Linked DNA regions of Homo sapiens: all the other regions are linked to region 3. The links are contacts of gene promoters, found by promoter capture Hi-C in human tissues and cell types (Jung and others, 2019). All regions are on one chromosome and are shown on one strand. Each heading gives the region's core, a stretch centred on a gene start or on the middle of the fragment in contact. The rest is flanking DNA. Distances are from core to core; before and after follow the strand shown. Region 1 overlaps TMEM64 (transmembrane protein 64). Region 2 overlaps LINC01030 (long intergenic non-protein coding RNA 1030). Region 3 holds the start of LRRC69 (leucine rich repeat containing 69).

Evidence for each region. Contacts are between HindIII fragments. The study calls those that stand out against the background at their distance.
Region 1: a fragment that was not itself captured here is called in contact with the fragment with the promoter of LRRC69 in region 3 in 2 of the 25 tissues and cell types used here (aorta and spleen).
Region 2: a fragment that was not itself captured here is called in contact with the fragment with the promoter of LRRC69 in region 3 in 2 of the 25 tissues and cell types used here (dorsolateral prefrontal cortex and lymphoblastoid cells).

Annotation. Positions count from the first base shown.
Region 1 is chr8:90,626,412-90,630,159 of GRCh38, forward strand. All of the region lies in intron 2 of TMEM64 (transmembrane protein 64), which reads right to left. Among named protein-coding and RNA genes, the nearest start is that of TMEM64, 18 kb to the right of the region's middle. The HindIII fragment of the contact is 3,185 bases long and covers 1-3,137 here.
Region 2 is chr8:90,598,990-90,602,659 of GRCh38, forward strand. All of the region lies in intron 1 of LINC01030 (long intergenic non-protein coding RNA 1030), which reads right to left. Among named protein-coding and RNA genes, the nearest start is that of LINC01030, 5.2 kb to the right of the region's middle. The HindIII fragment of the contact is 6,470 bases long and covers 1-3,670 here.
Region 3 is chr8:91,101,284-91,105,111 of GRCh38, forward strand. It overlaps LRRC69 (leucine rich repeat containing 69), which reads left to right and starts at 1,336. Exons shown (of 8, transcript NM_001129890.2): 1 at 1,336-1,561. The coding sequence starts at 1,379. The HindIII fragment of the contact is 5,612 bases long and covers 1-2,314 here.

The DNA.
Region 1 (3,748 bases), core at 295-2,794, 470 kb before region 3:
TGCCTGTACTTAGGAAAAAACAAAATCAGAGGAAAACATGATGATTATTTAAAAATGTTAGTCAAAGGGATACTAGAAAAATCATCACACTGATCAAATTGAAAGTCAGGTTTCTAGTCTTAGCTTAGCTATTCACTAGTGATGTGTGATTTAGGGAAGCTTCAGTTTCTCATTGTCCTATAGGAAGCTGTGGTCCCTCTGTACTTTTTTTTTCTTTCTTTTTTTTTTTTTTTTTTTGAGATGGAGTCTCGCTCTGTCGCCCAGGCTGCAGTGCAGTGGCACAATCTCGGCTCACTGCAACTTATGCCTCCCGGGTTCAAGTGATTCTCCTGCCTCAGCCTCCTGAGTAGCTGGGATTACATGCATGCGCCCCACGCCTGGCTAATTTTTGTATTTTTAGTAGAGACGGGATTTTACCATGTTGGCCAGGCTGGTCTCAAACTCCTGACCTCATGATCTGCCTGCCTCAGCCTCCCAAAGTGCTGGGATTACAGGCATGAGCCACAGTGCCCGGCCAACTTTAGCATTCTATGTACAGCTCCTCAGAATGTCTAAGCAGTGTACATTTTCTAAATGAGTTTTATTCCAAAGTTCATTTGTAAATCAGTTCTTTAGGATTTGGAGCAAACACAGCAGGTGTTATTTAATGTCCCAGCAAGTTTACAAAGGCTGCTGTAACCAAAAGTGATACGGAAATATAATACAATTTCAATGAAATCTACCCATAATTATAACATAAGCTTTAAAGGGAAAGTATTCTAAATCCAAGTGCTGAGGGTGGTTGGGGGAGGAGATAACAGAAGCAGAGCATACTGGGGGTATGGTAAGTGTGAGAGGGGAGGAACTTGGAACTTGCACAAGGGGGTGCCATTAAATGAGTACCCATCACTCAGTAAAATCGTAAATAAGTTAGGCATCTTAAAGCTGGGTCTTTAAATTCTGTAACTGTTTTCTGTTACTTCTCTTAAAAGAAACAAGATATATTTACCGAAAACTCCTAAGTTTGCTATGTATCAACAAATGGAAACACCATGTAAAGAGATGAAAAAAATATGGGGGCGGGGGCGGGTGCTTTGTGAATTAGATGCTACCTTCTGTTTAAGACATGCTGAATTCGAGGTGCCTCTTAGATATCCAAAAAAGTTCATGGATGTCAGTGAAGGGGTCTGAAGCTATGGAAAGAGGGCTGAGCTAAAGACAAGTGCTGGGGAGTAGGATGAGGGCAGGCGGAGGGTCTTGACCCAAATACACATATTAGCAACCATCAGAGTAACTGGATTTGCTGTAAAAAAGTTTTCAGAGTAGGACTAGAAAACTTAAGCTAGGATCTTCAAAAACACAGATATAAGGGGTGAAAGGAAGAAGTTAAGCATAAGCTAGGCAAGTGGAAAAAAAAAGTTAAGACAGTGGTATCAAAGAAACTAAGGAAAGAGTGTTTTAATAATGAAGGCACTGTCAGGAGTCTTAGACTACTAACAGGTCAAGCTAGATGAGAAATGGAAAGTACATCTCATTTAGACAAGCTTACTGACAGCCCTAAGAAGAGCAGTTTGAGGGAAGGAAGTGGCAGGGCCACAGATAGCAAGGGTGAAATGGTTACATCTTTAAGTGGGACTTTCCCAGCTGCACTTCTGATCCCAGGGCCTGACGATTTGTACTGTCCCCCAACACACCTTCCCCATCTTCCTTAGCTGAGTGAAGTGTTAAAAAGGGTTTAGAAAATGGAAATAGATAGTACAGACAATTGTTTTAAAAGTTTCCTTATTAAAATGAAATCAAAGAATCAAACACAGGCAGAAGGTCAAGCCTCATACAGAAAGACAGGCATCTCTTAATGCTAACTGGAAAGCAAGCTAAGCAGGGGCAGGAACATAAGAAGTTAACAGATTTCTTATATGCAAATTCAGGGGTTTCTCAGTTGAAGGCTTCTGATTTTTCTGTTAAGCAAGAGAGGTAATCTGCTGACAATAAAGATGGAAACAGGCGAAGGAGTCAAAATTGTGAGGAGAAGTGAAGATAGTTTAAAATAATTAACTATTTCAAGACAACAGCAGGGGAGTGAGAAGACAAAGGAGAGAGATGGGATGTGGGGCAGTGTCGAGAAACTAGGTGAAGATTTGCAACCATGAGTTAAATATCAATGTGTCTGGTTACATGACTTCCCCAAAAGAATAGGGGCAAAGCAGATAAAACTTGGATGTATTCAGGTTTGGGGTTTTGGTTAGTAGATACATAGAAAAATAACAGGCATGGAAGAGTAACTAAATAGACCACAGAATCTAAGCTGGATTTCAGTACAGTTTGAGCATTCCTAACCCAGAAATTCCAAACCTCAAAGGCTCCAACCCGAAGTTTTTGAGCACTAACAAGACACTCAAAGAAAATGCTCATTCGAACACTTTAGATTCCAGACATTTGGATTAGGGATACTCAACAGGTAAGCACAATGTAAATATACTGAAATCTGAGGAAATTCAAAATCTAAAACATTTCTGGCTGCAAGCATTTCAGATAAGGGATAATCAAACTGTACAAGAAATGGTTGTGGCTTCCTATGAACAGTTATTTTGTATTGCTTTATTTTAGGCTGACAGCCATAAAACTCAGAGGCAAATTTGTGGCTCGTTTCTAGAAAATAAGAGGAATCTCATGAATATACTTATTCTGCTAGCTTTAACCTAAGCTCTCTTTTTTTCCTTTTGTATATATTTTGTAAGCTGCATTAAATGCCTCCTGATACAAATTAAGCTGTAACTAATATCAATTAAATCAAACAAGCGTAAACATGTCTTCACTTCTTTTCATAAATCCCTAGGCTAAGAAATATGTGCTTTCCCCACTGTCTTGTATTCTAAGCTTAAATTTTCCAGCTTAGCCAAAGGGTGAGAAATCACTGAATAAAAGAAGATTCTATAGTTTAAAAAGCATCATGAACTTCATTGACTATAGTTGAGTAATTTACTAAGATGCATAAAAATATAAAGTTTCAAATAGTAAAAGTTCTCTCTAAGCTACTAACAATGAGGGATTCTAATTACTCAAATGTAAAGTCAAAGGGAAAAAAATGTTACAAATAGATTACTTATTTTCAGGAAACTACAAAAAAAATGCTTAACTTCATACTAAAAAAATCTGAGAATGCAATACATATTAGATAATTTTACAGTTCTTTGGGACAATCATAAATGTTAATTTATATACTGTGCTATAGATATAATGCATAGAAAGTTTAACTTTATATGATTAGCATGCTGTATTATATAAATAAACCAACTGTAACAAAAACATTTAACTTAGATTCAGATTATCTGAAGAAAATATAGCTCTGGGGAAAAAAAGTAAAGAAAAATAAAAACTGACTCTTTGCATGTCAAAAATATTACAAAATTTTTCTTAAAGCAAGTACTCTTATTGATAAGCTTTATTTAGGCAATATTTCAATGTAAATATTCATGGTTTTACTTTATGTACTAAACTTGTACCTCATAAGCGCAAAGAAAATTAACTCTGGCTTTATTTTATCATAGTATTTTAAATAAGATAGGGCCTCAAAAACTTGAGAATAATGCCACCAAAATTAAATTTGTAATACGGTACCATATACTCAATAACAGTTAAGTTAAAACTAACAAGTTAAAAGACCAGTAAGTCTGGAGGACCATTTCATTAGTATTATTTGCTTAGAGGAGTATAGTGTTGTCCCCTGTATCTGTGGGGTATTGGTTCCTGGAGCCCCCCAGATTTCAAA
Region 2 (3,670 bases), core at 608-3,107, 500 kb before region 3:
GCATGTAAACCTAAAATAACATGGGCTTTGCAATACAACTTAATATGAAAATTTTATAAGATTGAATGTAAATTTAATGAAGTCAACAGGTAATTTTACTTATGAAAGGGGCCATAACATATGAAATAAACAGAGTAGTTGTTAATATGGAAGGAATGTTAATACTTAAATATTAGATAGAGTTTAATTCTCAAAGTTTCCATCTCTACCTTGTATGTGTAATTAGCATCATTTAGTGAATTCGTATGTTCTGTGATAGAAGGATATTTAATTAGTACTTTACTTTCCACTAGATAAAATTAGAACATAAAATCAGTATCTGAAATCTGCTGAGAATTATTTTGAGTTTTCTGTGTTTTCACGTCGATAATTTGCTGCAAAGAAATTTCTTTATAAAATTAAAAAATAATTCTACTCTAGAATAATATAAATCTCAAGAAGCATTTTTATGCATTTTCCTAAGAAGAAAACTCAAGATGGACACATTTTCAATATCAATTTATCAAGGTACCTGGGCAAAAATACTAGGATACATTTATTGTCATTATTTCTAGTGACAGGAATAAGTTCATATATCCGAAGCAAGAGATATCACATGACATGCTCGATAGAATTTATCCAAATATGCTTTGACTGAGTCCCAAACATTTCAGTGACTTTTTGTTTTATATTGGCTGGATTGTCAGTATTCCTTCCCAGTTACATATATAATGACGGTAATAATATTCAGCTCATTTATGCAGCAATTTCTCCTGGAAACATAAGTGCATTTTTTGTAATTTTTATTTTTTTGTTTTTGTTTTTTTGAGACTTAGTCTTGCTCTGTCGCCCAGGCTGGAATGCAGTGGCATGATCTTGGCTCACTGCAACCTCTGCCTCATGGGTTCAAGGAAGCCTCAGCCTCCTGAACAGCTGGAATTGTAGTTGCCCGCCATGATACCTGGCTAATGTTTGTATTTTTAGTAGAGACGGGGGTTTCACCATGTTAGCCAGGCTGGTCTTGAACTCCTGATCTCAGGTGATCCACCCACCTTGGCCTTCCAAAGTGCTGGGATTGCAGGCATGAGCCACCATGCCCAACCCATTTTTTTGTAATTTTAATAAAAATTTAGAGGCAACAAGCCATGCTAATTAGAAAAAGGTATTTTTAAGTTTAGGAAAATCAAGCATTTATTTTTAATTGAGTAGTGTCAAGCCAATCACATAATGTTCTTTCTACTAAATTATTTCTATCATCAGAGGACAAAAATATCTCTTATTACAAAGGCAAAGGGACAATATTTATTCATTTATATAATCTATATGAATTATTACTATGTGTCATTTAAACATACTTAGAAATCATCTTGATAAATATAATGATTCTTTGGAACCCATTTAATTAATATGAATTTTTAGTTCCACAAAGAATGCTTGCAGTTTTAAAATACTGTTTTAGGGGAGATATTTTCAGGGTAATTGATGTATTTTTTCCTCATTTCTAAAAATCTGTGTCTATACATCTAAAATAAACTCCTCTCCTTTTTGTGAAATATAAAATTGTCTAACATAAAAGTAGATTTTTAAACAAACACTGGAACTACTGAAAGTACAAGCAAGAAAATTAATTTCTAAATCCTAATGACCATATTTATTACATTGAATTCTATAATAACACTCCTTAATAAATTTACTTTAAAAATTCAGAAAGTTTCTATCAAATTCACAAGAAATTAAATGTTTTTGTTTTCAGTAACCCAGAAAAAGCAACATCCTTAGTATAGCATAATTGTGAGTATTAAATTATATACCCTGGCATTTACATAACACGTTAAAAGTGAAAAATGATTAATATCAACACTTTTAAATATTTATTAAATCCAATAAAGTAAGCAAATAATATTAACGTTTGAACTGTAAAAAGTAATAATAATTTTACTATTTCACAAGTCAACAAATGTATAATATATCTACTAGGTACCAGGCACTGTATGTACTAGGTACTGCCATATGGTAATGACCAAGACAGAGAACAAGACAAATGCTTCTGAGAAGGCAAGGATGTTGAAGCAAGAGAACTTGAGTGTACCTTAGTAGGCATCGCTAAAGCTCCATAAAACATTCTATTTCCATATATCTGCCTCAGCTGAACCCTAATTGGAGTCCCTGGTCTACTCCAGAAAAAGAGAAAGCAATTGTGCACAGGCTACACAGAGAAAGGAAAAGAAATGAAAAGAGATTGGCTTGTTTTGCTCTGTGAAATGGTAAATATTATCGAGTAACCCAATATACTACTACTGATTTCACTATTAAGGTTTTGAATTTTAGAAATTAGAATAATATGCAACAGTACATTCTTCAAAACAGATAAAGTAGGAAGGTTTATAAATATAGCCTAGACATTAATTTAGAACAAAAAACTTCTTTACAATTTGATTTCCAAATAAAATCACAGCAGACCTTGTTTCTTTGAAGTTGACAGTAAATAATGTGATTTTAAAGGTCATCTTGTTTCCAAAATATGTTGTGCACTGAAAAAAAAACTAAAGATAATAATGTATATAGCACAATCCCATTATAGTCAGTGAAGCAAATGCATACAAACATATTTTTATATACTTGTACACAAAAAGAAAAAACTCCAAAGTATTTTACGCAAACTGTTAGCTGTGAATTACCTATACCTGCAAAAAAAGATGACTGTTAAAATACCCATTAAAATGGTAATTTAAAATACTACACTGACCTAAGAAAGAGCATAATACTAAATAAAATGGAATATAAAATGTAATAAACACGTGTTTCTGCATTAGACAGTATGTATAGAATAACAGATGAGAATAAATTAAGTATTTTATGGAGGTGGAATTAAGGCTTGGATTTTCAAGTTAAAAATTTTAAATTTATCCATGCCCCTTCATTCTGGTAGTAGCATGTTATATTTAATTTTTCCCGTTTTAAACCTCTGATTTTTCTTTAAACTTTTCAAAAGATTGTTTTCTAAATGCTATTTATTGATATTACCTTTTAAATATAATATATTCTATGTACACCTAGGTCTCATTCTAGACTTTCTCTTCGGTTCCATTAGTCTATTTCTTCTGATTTCCATGACTTTACATATTAAATTTTGGTACAGGAAGTCCTTCTTTATAATTTTAAAGCTTTCCTGGCCATTTTCACAAAATTTTATTGCAGATGATCCTTGCATCATTTTGTTAATTAAAAAACAAGAACAATGCTTTGGAATATTTATTGTAAGGAAACTACATTGATAGGATAAGTTGAAAGAAATCAATACGTGATGTGACTCAACTGGCCTCTCTCATCTCACAATAAAGGCACAGTCCTGGCTACTCATTCCCAACTAAAAGTTAGACATTTAAATACAAAACAAATATATAATAAGCCCTGTAAGAAAAGCAATAGGGCATCTTTTTTCTTTTTTATTCTAAAGGGGTGATATGAAATACAGTAAATCATAATAAGAAAGGTAGTTCTAATTTGATTACAAAATTTAAAAATGCTTTATCAAGGGTTGATATGTGCAGCAAACCACCATGGCACATGTATACCTATGTAACAAACCTGCATGTTCTGCATATGTATTCCAGAACTTAAAGTAAAATAAAAAAAAAATGCTTTATCAATCCAGAGGTTAAAAGACCTCGAATTAAATCAGCTCATTTGT
Region 3 (3,828 bases), core at 86-2,585:
CAGTGCGAGAATGGACAAATACAAACCCCTATGTGTCTATTACTCAGCATTAATAATTATCAACATTTTGTCAATCTTGTTTGATCAGTTTCTTCCACCCACTTTCCCCCCTAGATTATTTTTAAAAAAACTCAAGATATCATTTTATTTCACTTGAAAATTTCAGTATGCATTTCTGAATGTTAAGCACATTTAAAATAAATACTACCACCATACCATTTTCACATGTAACAGAATTAATTTCTCTCATCTAATAGCCGATGAACAAATTTCCCTGAGATGTTTGTATTCAACTGAGGATTCAAATACAGTCCAGACATTGCATTTAGCTGTTATTTGCCCTAAGTTTCACTTACATCGTAACAGTTTTCCCTCCTTTTTATTAATGTCTTTCATTTGTTGGTGAAACCTTGTGACATTGGACCAGGGACCAGTCCTGTAGAATCTTCCATGTTATAGATTTGACTGTTTCCCTATAATGAACTTAACTTATTCTCTAGTTCTGTTTTTTTGTAAATGGTAGTTAGATCTTGAAGCCATGATTAGATTCAGATTTAATTTTTGGACAGGAACATTTCATAGGTGGTGCTGCTGTGTACTTTTTAATTCATTACTTCATAAGGCTTATAATGTGATTGTCTCAATTTTATTGATGCTAAAATGATTAGTGGGTTATTAACCTGATCACTTGATTATAAAGTTCCTCATCAACCTTTCATCTAATACTTTCAGTCTCCAATTATGATTTTTGCATAGCTCCATTATTTTATTAGAATTTGCAAAAATTGTGATTATTCTAGTTATTTTGTCTTTCTCATTTATTAGTTTCAATTCTTGTGAATAAGAACTTTATTAACTATTAAGTTATATTTAAGTGCAGTTTGTACTGGAAAAGCAGAATAAATGCTTATATTTTTTCCTTTATCAATTTTCAGACTGAGTTGGTGCGCTAGTAATTCCCAGGGTGAGTAATGTTTCTTTTTAAAAAATGCCATTATGAACTCAGATTTTAATGTGTTTTGATATGTTTCAGTCTATTCTAGATTATTTCTTTCTGATCCTTAATATTTTCCATCTTAGACTAGTGGGAGCTCCTAGAAGTTCACTTCTGTGTCCTCATTAATCTCTGATAGCTTTAATATCGCAGGCATAAGCTATTTTAGGCTTACATTATACATTTCCTGCCCCAAACCTGGACCATCTACTTTCCTTTCGTATCTTTCACATAGGAAAATAATCTAATGCTTCCCCCCTTCAACATGGTGGATCTCAGAATGTTCTTGTTTCTATGACACACCAATTCTGTAATTAGAGGTTCTAAAGCTGTATAATAAAGAACTCTAATGGTTACCTTGTTTTCTACTTCTTTTCCAAGATCATGACTGAGAGATTGTTAATAAAAGCATTGAGTGGTGGTAAAAATACGAAGATCATTACTTTGAATGGGAAGAAGATGACAAAGATGCCCTCAGCATTAGGAAAACTGCCTGGCCTGAAGACTCTAGTCCTTCAGAATAACCTAATCCCCAAAGTGTGTCCAGAGTTATGCAACTTGACCCAGGTGAGGAACAGTGTTTTGCTGTTGTGGTTTGGTATTGAAGATGGAAAACAGGAAGAGAGAAAAAAGGGGTAAGAGACAGAACAATAACACTTCGATCTATGGAGACTTAGGTATCTGGAGACTTAATGTGGAGTGTTGCTGGAGAGGCATCAGAAGGCTTTCTCCCTTAGGGAATTCCATGTGGTAGGGAGAGATGTTTCAATTTATTCATGTGCTCTTTGGCCCACATCTGGAGTCAGGGGACTAGGTCTCTGCCACACTCATCTTTTTAGAGGCTGTCATCTGGAAAGGGGTTGGAAACCTGGATCTGGTCGTCTATCTTGGGGGCTTACATCTGGAAGTAGTTTTGAGGATCCAGGAGATGCTGTTCACCCTGGGGACTGTCCTGAAGCTTTTGCATTTAGAATGAAGAGACATTTAGGATGCAGCAAGGGAGTTCCTTTTCAATTTCCTAGGGCAGGCTGAAACTTTGAAATGGAGTGTTGGCAGGGAATAGGAAGGAGGGGACATTTATTTCTCCTGAAATAGTCTTTAAAGGAAGTTTAATATTTTAAATAAAAAATATTCTTTTTTAAAGAGGAATAGTTGACATGAATGAATCCCATATGCTTGTGTTAAACCTTTCTGCCTAACAATGTGAAACTCTAGCTGCCAAAAATCTTGAGGTTGAGAGAAGGCAAGGGATATTAACTTTGTAATTTTCTTTTTGTTCACTGCTGAATTGTCATCAGCACAGGAAGAACCTAGAAGCAGCTAAGGCGTTATAGCTCATTAATTTTGAATTTACAGTTCCAAAAAATAAATCTGTATTTTCTTACTTTCACCCTACCTCATTTCCTTTTACGTTTAAGAAATTGAGTTTGTAATCTGTAGTTGTATCTTTATAAGAAATAGGGTAACTTTTACAAAGTCCCCCTTCATTAGTAATTGCAGAAGGTATACTTGTAGTTACAAGACAACAAGGACTTGGAATTTTTTAATAGGAAAGAGGAGTTTCTTTGCAAAAGAATTTGGGACTTGACTGAGTCATGAACCTATTCTCTCCCTCTATTTGAATTTATTTCCATTAAAGTAGTACTAACCATTGGTTACCGAGAATTAAATATTACAAAAAGCTTATAGCAAGAAGCTATCTTCTATCCCACTTCCCCTCATCCTCAATCCCGATCTCCATATATAACCACTTTTAACTCATCTATTTTATTGATTTGTCTATTTTTGGCATCATTTTTCTTCATCTTCTAGATACAGTTATATTAATGTATCTATTGTGTATTGATCCACATCTGGAATCAGGGGATTAGGTCTACAGGTATCTTTTACATGTAATGTTACTACACCTTTATTTCTTCCTTCATCAACTGCAGTCTCTTTTGACTCCCCACTTCGTAAGATGACAGTGTCAGCCTTTGTAATCCACCTTCAGCTGTCCTTTCCTCTCCCCCCTCACAAACTCTGAAGTTTTTACTTTTATAACACTTACAGCTTTTATATCCTATTCAGTTATAACCATAATTAAATATTTGTTTTGTGTCTTGGGTAACTCTAAACTTCTAAAAATATATATTACTAATAAATAAATATTCACATGGAGTCAATTAATCTATGATTATATTTTCTTTCTTATATGCCATTTTTGTTCCCTTGGAGTTTCTAATAACCTTTCCTTTGTTCTTGTGCCTTAGTTTTATGGTAGCCTCATTTTATTTCAAACTGTATAATTTTTTTCTGTCAAATGTACTTTTCCTTGAGAGACTTCCCTCTAAGACCCTCCATCCTCTGCCCCACTCTATGTTGACTGCTATCTAGGTTTGCTAGATACTGTCAGCCAAGGACATTCCCTTTGTTGCTCTCTTAAATTGGACCCACTGTTTCCTGTATCCTGTATTTTCCTTTCTTGGCTTGCTCTCTTAGTTTTTCAGGAGTCTCGAGAAATCATCCTAGTCTGGGTATGTGGTAGTTAAATTGTTTGATCCCTTGCATATCTGAAAATTTCTGTATTCTTGTCTCACACTTGGTTAATAGTTGTTTAGTAAAAAGTTACACATTCCAAGATATATTTCCATAGGAAAAAGCCCCAAGAGTCTGATTATCATTACATTGTCTTCTTCTTGTGGCTCCCTTTGTTACTTGCCCTCTCATTCTTCTATTTAGGGGTAACCTACGTGTTGACTTCTGTTTGTTCACTCTTAGTTCCTTCACCAGGGAGCTGTCTCAGCCCAGTGCTTACTTTTAAAGAAGAAATTACACCACTAAGAATTCAACTG